Regions from separate parts of the Homo sapiens genome. Here region 2 is linked to region 1. The links are contacts of gene promoters, found by promoter capture Hi-C in blood cells and fetal thymus (Javierre and others, 2016). All regions are on one chromosome and are shown on one strand. The core of a region is centred on a gene start or on the middle of the fragment in contact, and the rest is flanking DNA. Distances in the headings are between cores, read along the strand shown. Region 1 holds the start of JOSD1 (Josephin domain containing 1). Region 2 holds the start of EIF3L (eukaryotic translation initiation factor 3 subunit L).

Region 1 (2,904 bases), core at 262-2,761:
TAGCATAGTGGTCAACAGCATAGATATAAGAATTCAACCCCAGCTCCAAGTCTTGTTATCTTGGGCGAGGTACTGAACTAAATGTGTCTTCATCAGTAAAATGGAAATAACATCACATATTAACACGTATTCCACGGGACTGTTGAAGATCACTCAAGAAAACACAGCTGAGGCTATGAGTACTTTCCTAGCCCACCGTAAGTGCCTGATAAATGGTAGTGATTATCTTTTCATGTCTTGTGTCCCTTATACCTGCTAACGCAATCTAGCTAATACCTACAGCTTTGAAGGTTTATGAAGCTGAGACACTGCCCCACCCACAGAAATCCAGAAATATCAGTATCAAGATGCCAAGGAGAAGGGTCCCCTACCTCTGGAAAATCTCTTGCAGCGTATCCCGGGTGAAGGCATTGCTGTCCTGGAAGACGTTATTGAGGGCGTGGAGGGCACAAAGCTCCCTGCGCTGTTTCTCATGGTAGATTTGTGGGGGTGCTGCCTGGGGCAGCTCCAATGATTCAGATTTGGCCTTGTCTCCTTTCCATGGCACACAACTCATGTTTTTTGTTTTAGGTTCCAGAGATGGCTATAAACACCCCACTCTTCCCTCTAGAGGAAGAATGTAAGCTTCTCAGTCTTTTCCGGATTCCTGAGGTCCACCTTATTCTCTGGTGTCCATGATTTATGCTTTGTCACTGGGAGAAAAGATTGGAATCAAAAGGAAAAAAATAAAACCCACCTCTTCTCTCTTCTCAATAGAAAAATAACTTTTGGATTACTTTTATTTTGCTACCACTGTCAAAGTGCAGAATTTAAAAAAACACATAAAATGTAAGACCTTGTTTCCGTTTCCCCACCCTTCCCTCCCACCCCCCTCCAAAATCCCCACGATTTTCTTGCTGTTTCCCTCTGCAAATGCCAGGCCTCAAAGCAGGAGGACCGAACACAATCGGTCACATCGCTCCTTTTCTTCCATTTCTTTTGAACCACGACGCCAATGACTCGGGAGACAAGGCCTGGGTGACGGATAAATTTAGCGCACGAGTCGAGTAGCTAGCGCGGGCCGGCAGGCGTGGGACCGCGAGCCGCGCGGGGGCCTCGGGGGCAGCCCTCCATCCCCTCGGGTACGGTGGGGCCCGCAGGGCGCGGCTCCCTCGGAAGGCGCGGATTCTAGCCCTCTGGCCGCGGCCCTGCGGAGGAGGAGACAACTCCGGTCAGCGGCGAGCGGGCGCGGGAAGTGAGCGGCGGGGCCGGCCCCTGCCCGAGGGAAGGTTCCGCGCGGCGAAGGGCTGGCCCGCGAGGGGTGGGGCCGGACAGTCAGCCTCGCGCTCCCGGGCCCGCGCCCACCCGGCTCGCAGCCCCTACACAAACCTCCCCGCCCGTCACGTGAGCGCAGGCCCAGACGCCCTCCCGCCGCGCCCCCGGCCGCAGACCCCAGGGCCGCCGGGACTGCTCGCCGCTGGCGGTCCCCTCACCGCAGCCGGCCGCCACCTGGAGTGCGCGCCGCCAACTGGGCCGTGCGGGCGGGCGCGCGCACCTGAGCCCGACGTCAGCGGCCCCCGCCCGGCGCGTGCTCCGGAAACGCCCTCCCGCGCCGTCCTCACTCCTCCCAGCCGTGGCGTCACGCCTGACGTAAGTCTGACGTCATCGGCACCGGCCTGGGAGCCGCAGACGCCGGGCGTGTAGGGGCGCAGTTCAACGGTTGGGGTGTTGCAAAGGCCGTGGGTGTGGGGCTGCGGGCTGCGCACCTCGGCGGCGGCCGGCAGGGTTGGGGTCCAGCCGCTCCGCTCGGCGCGGCCCCTGGCGGGGCGGCCTGAGGGAGTCCTACCTGGACGCCAGCCTGCCCTTCTCCCGGGCGTGGGCGTTGTTTCGGGGCGGCAGCCAGGCCAGCGGCTGCAGTCCGCGGCTTTCAGCACCCCTCCCTTCTCTGTGCCGGGCTTTTCGGCCGAACGTTCTCGCTCCTTCTGCGTTGACTGTTTTATGTGTGGTTAACGCGCGGCTCACCAGGGGGGATTTTGAAGCACCTGATTCGGTCGGGCGCAAATTGCCTTGGTTAGTGGGCCCGACCGTGCCGCACTGTCCAGGGAGCGTCAAGGGTAGGTGTCTCGCTGGGAGTCACATTTCAAGTGGAAAGGAGAATCCTGTTGCAGTTCCTTGGTGTCGCATTTCGGTTCACTACACACAAGCCACTGCCTTCTTGCCTGGGGGCTCCCCGCTCTTCTCACGGTGGCTTTCCTCTCTGCAGAGACCTCTGCGCGAGGTATACCTAAGCGCATTGTGTGCGTCTTCGGGAAAAGGCGAAAACTACTCGCAGTCCCACGTGGATTTCATTTTTTCCCCTTTACCTACTCTTAGGGTGCGTGGTAGGCATCATTATCCACCTTAGCTGCCCTTCTTTTGGGTTTTCTGTAAAACTGGAAAAACGAGAAGAAACTGTTGCACTTCAAATTTAGTTGTTTTGTTTTGTTTTTTGGAGACGGAGTTTCGCTCTTGTTGCCCAGACTGGAGTGCAATGGCATGATCTCCGCTCACCGCAACGTCCGCCTCCCGGGTTCAAGCAATTCTCCTGCCTCAGCCTCCCGAGTAGCTGGGATTGCAGGCATGCGCCACCACGCCCGGCTAATTTTGTGTGTTTAGTAGAGGGGTTTCTTCATGTTGGTCAGGCTGGTCTCGAACTCCCGACCTCAGGTGATCCACCCGCCTTGGCCTCCCAAGGTGTTGGGATTACAGAAGTGAGCCACCGTGCCCGGCCTTTTTTTTTTTTTTTTTTTTTAAGATGGAGTTTAACTTTTGTCGCCCAGGCTGAATTGCAACGGGGCGATCTCGGCTTACTGCAACCTTCACCTCCTGGACTCAAGCGATTCTCATGTCTCAGCCTCCCGCGTAGCTGGGATTACAGGCTCCTGC
Region 2 (2,904 bases), core at 257-2,756, 850 kb before region 1:
AGCAGACACCTGAAGGTGCCATGCAGATACCGATGGGGAAGGGAATGGGAGTGGGGGTGCCACTGCATTCGATTCTAGACTTGGATAACAGTGAGTGCAAAATCCCAGAGGTGGAGCGTGCCTCAGTGGGAAAAGCAAGGAGGGCGGCGTGACAAAGGGACCCAGAGAGTCCTGGTCACACAGCAAATCAGTGGCGGAGTAGGGACTGGAACTCGGATTTCCACTAGGTGTTGTGTATGGGCAGATGGCTAAACTAAGGCCTCTCCTTGACTCATACACCGGTTTTTATTGGTTTGCTTTATAACCCCATCTCTACCTTGAGGGTTTCCCCTGGCCTCGAACCCGGTGTACTCAAGAGCTGCCCATGTCCCAGGCTTCGCGACACAGCTGGCCTCATCTTTGCCTGCTCCAACTTTAATGTCCAAAGTTGGGTGGCTCCTGTTCTCCATTCCCTCTTACTGCATGGGACCAAATCTCAATTTTTTTTTTTCTTTTTTTTTTTAGACGGAGTCTTGCTCTGTCGCCCAGGCTGGAGTGCAGTGGCGCGATCTCGGCTCACTACAGCCTCTGCCTCTCAGGTTCCACCGATTCTCCTGCTTCAGCCTCCTGAGTAGCTGGGATTACAGGCGGACGCTACCACTCCCGGCTAATTTTTGTATTTTTAATAGAGACGGGGTTTCGCCATTTCGGCCAGGCTGGTCTCGAACTCCTGATCTCAGATCATCCACCCGCCTCGGCCTCCCAAAGTGTAGGGATTACAGGCGTGAGCCATCGCGCCCGGCCAAATCTCAATTTTTATCCCCAGTAAGTTTAGTCTTGTGAAGTCCGAACGTTTGAATAATTTACTCGCTGCAGGCAAACCGCCTACAACTAAATCCATCAGGCCCCCGTATCCGAATCTTCCTTCACGCGAGAAGCCGGCCATCTTTTGTGTAGCATTCTTTCTGGTTCCTCTAACTTTGCCTCTCCTTTACGCCAAATACGTGTCCTTATATCTGAATCTACACCACTATTATAGATTCACCTTCTTTGAGAAGTCCCTATTTGAAGAGAGGAAAATTCAGGCTACTTGTAACCCTCTTATTCTTTTTAGACGGAGTTTTCCCTCTTGTTGCCCAGGCTAGAGTGCAATGGCGCGATCTCGGCTCACCGCAACCTCCGCCTCCCGGGTTCAAGCGACTCTCCTGCCTCAGCCTCCCGAGTAGCTGGAATTACAGGCATGCGCCACCACTCCCGGCTAATTTTGTATTTTTAGTAGAGACGGGGTTTCTCCATATTGGTCAGGCTGGTCTCAAACCCCCGGCCTCAGCCTCAGGTGATCCGCCCGCCTCGGCCTCCCAAACTGGTGGGGTTACAGGTGTGAGCCACGGAACGCGGCTCCTCTTCCTTCTGGATATGGCTGTCTCAGATGGCCAGAGGCCTCGGAAAGGCTTCCGGTTTCCCGGCAGGCCCGAGTGGGGCTGAACTTCCGGCCTCAGGACGCAGGCGCGGGCCGCTCATTTCGCTCTTTCCGGCGGTGCTCGCAAGCGAGGCAGCCATGTCTTATCCCGCTGATGATTATGAGTCTGAGGTAAGGTGGCCGTAAGGGCGCGGTGGGCTCCACGACGGGGTGATCTCTGGGACCACTGGATGTGGGTCCCGGCGCGAGGCAGCTTCCGGGTCGCGGCCAGCTCCGGCCGACCTCCCGCCCGGCCCTCAGGCTGCTCCCACAGTTCCCGGTCCCTAGACAACCCTGGCTCTGCCCGCCCACTTCGCGTGTTCGATTGGCTTGTCCTTCCCCTTTCTAAGACCGGAGACTAAGGCCTGTTAGACGTTTCTGTGTTTCTGCACCTGAGTTTTTTTGGTCTAGGCTCCGTCTGGTCAAATCTCGCTGATTCCCACAGCCTCTTGTCCTTTGCTCCACCTCATTGCACCCGTAATGTTGTATTGTCATTGTCTGTTTACTGTCCCTTTTCTCTAAGGCGTGTGAGTTCCTCAAAGGCAGGCACAGTGTCTTATTCGCCTCTGTATCCTTAGCTCTCTGCTTGGCATCTAGACTCTAGGATGAGCGTTTTGAATTCACGACTTGGCGGCTGTCCTTGACTGTGTCTCTTTCCTTCTAGGCGGCTTATGACCCCTACGCTTATCCCAGCGACTATGATATGCACACAGGTGAGACCACGGGTTAGGCTGGCTGAGTACTCGTAGGGATCAGTTCCTTTGGAATGTCTTAGAACCAGCTCTGACAGGCATCAAAAATTGCTCTTTGATGGTCCAGGTTTGGAGTCAGTCATTAGCTGCCAGTGCGAGGGGTTTTATAAAGCCTAATAAACCAGGCTTTTTATCATAGTCCACCTCAGTCTTGGAAGAGAAGGATTACTTACCTGGCTATGGTTTTCTTGTGTAAACTATTAGCCAAATAAGAAAAGCTTTTTTGTTTTTGTTTTTGTTTTTGTTTTTGAGATGGAGTTTCCCTCTGTCCCCCAGGCTGGAGTGCAGTGGTGCGATCTCGGCTCACTGCAACCTCCGCGTCCCTCGTTCAAGCAGTAGTTCTCTTGTCTCAGCCTCCTGAGTAGCTGGGATTACAGGCGCCCACCACCATTCCCAGCTAATTTTTAAATTTTTTTAATAGAGACGAGGTTTCGCCGTGTTGTCCAGGCTGGTCTTGAACTCCTGACCTCAGGTGATCCACCCGCCCCAACCTCCCAAAGTGCTGGGATTACAGGCGTGAGCCACCGCGCCTGCCCCAAGGAAGAAAATCTTGATGTGAAAAATTTAAGTAATTCAAACCAAGCCCGAATGAAATCTTTTTAGGAGGTGTCTGAGGTTTCCTGAAACGTTATAGTGACTTGACTTAGTAGTCAGTGTTATCCATTGTTCTAAGTACTTTGTATGAAATATTTTGTTTAATCCTTACAGCAGTTC

Evidence for each region. The method cuts DNA at HindIII sites, captures the fragments that hold promoters and counts their contacts. A CHiCAGO score of 5 or more calls a contact.
Region 2: a contact is called between the fragment with the promoter of EIF3L here and the fragment with the promoter of JOSD1 in region 1, in 2 of 17 cell types (M2 macrophages and erythroblasts). The highest score is 6.7, in M2 macrophages.

What each region holds. Positions count from the first base shown.
Region 1 is chr22:38,699,432-38,702,335 of GRCh38, forward strand. JOSD1 (Josephin domain containing 1) reads right to left here and starts at 1,512. Exons shown (of 5, transcript NM_001360236.2): 1 at 1,369-1,512; 2 at 372-1,187. The coding sequence starts at 556. RefSeq lists a silencer at 1,019-1,978. The HindIII fragment of the contact is 4,284 bases long and covers 623-2,904 here.
Region 2 is chr22:37,847,913-37,850,816 of GRCh38, forward strand. EIF3L (eukaryotic translation initiation factor 3 subunit L) reads left to right here and starts at 1,507. Exons shown (of 13, transcript NM_016091.4): 1 at 1,507-1,570; 2 at 2,103-2,151. The coding sequence starts at 1,538. It also overlaps a transcript of ANKRD54 not described here. RefSeq lists enhancers at 626-1,148, 1,149-1,671, 1,672-2,193. The HindIII fragment of the contact is 2,543 bases long and covers 1-2,406 here.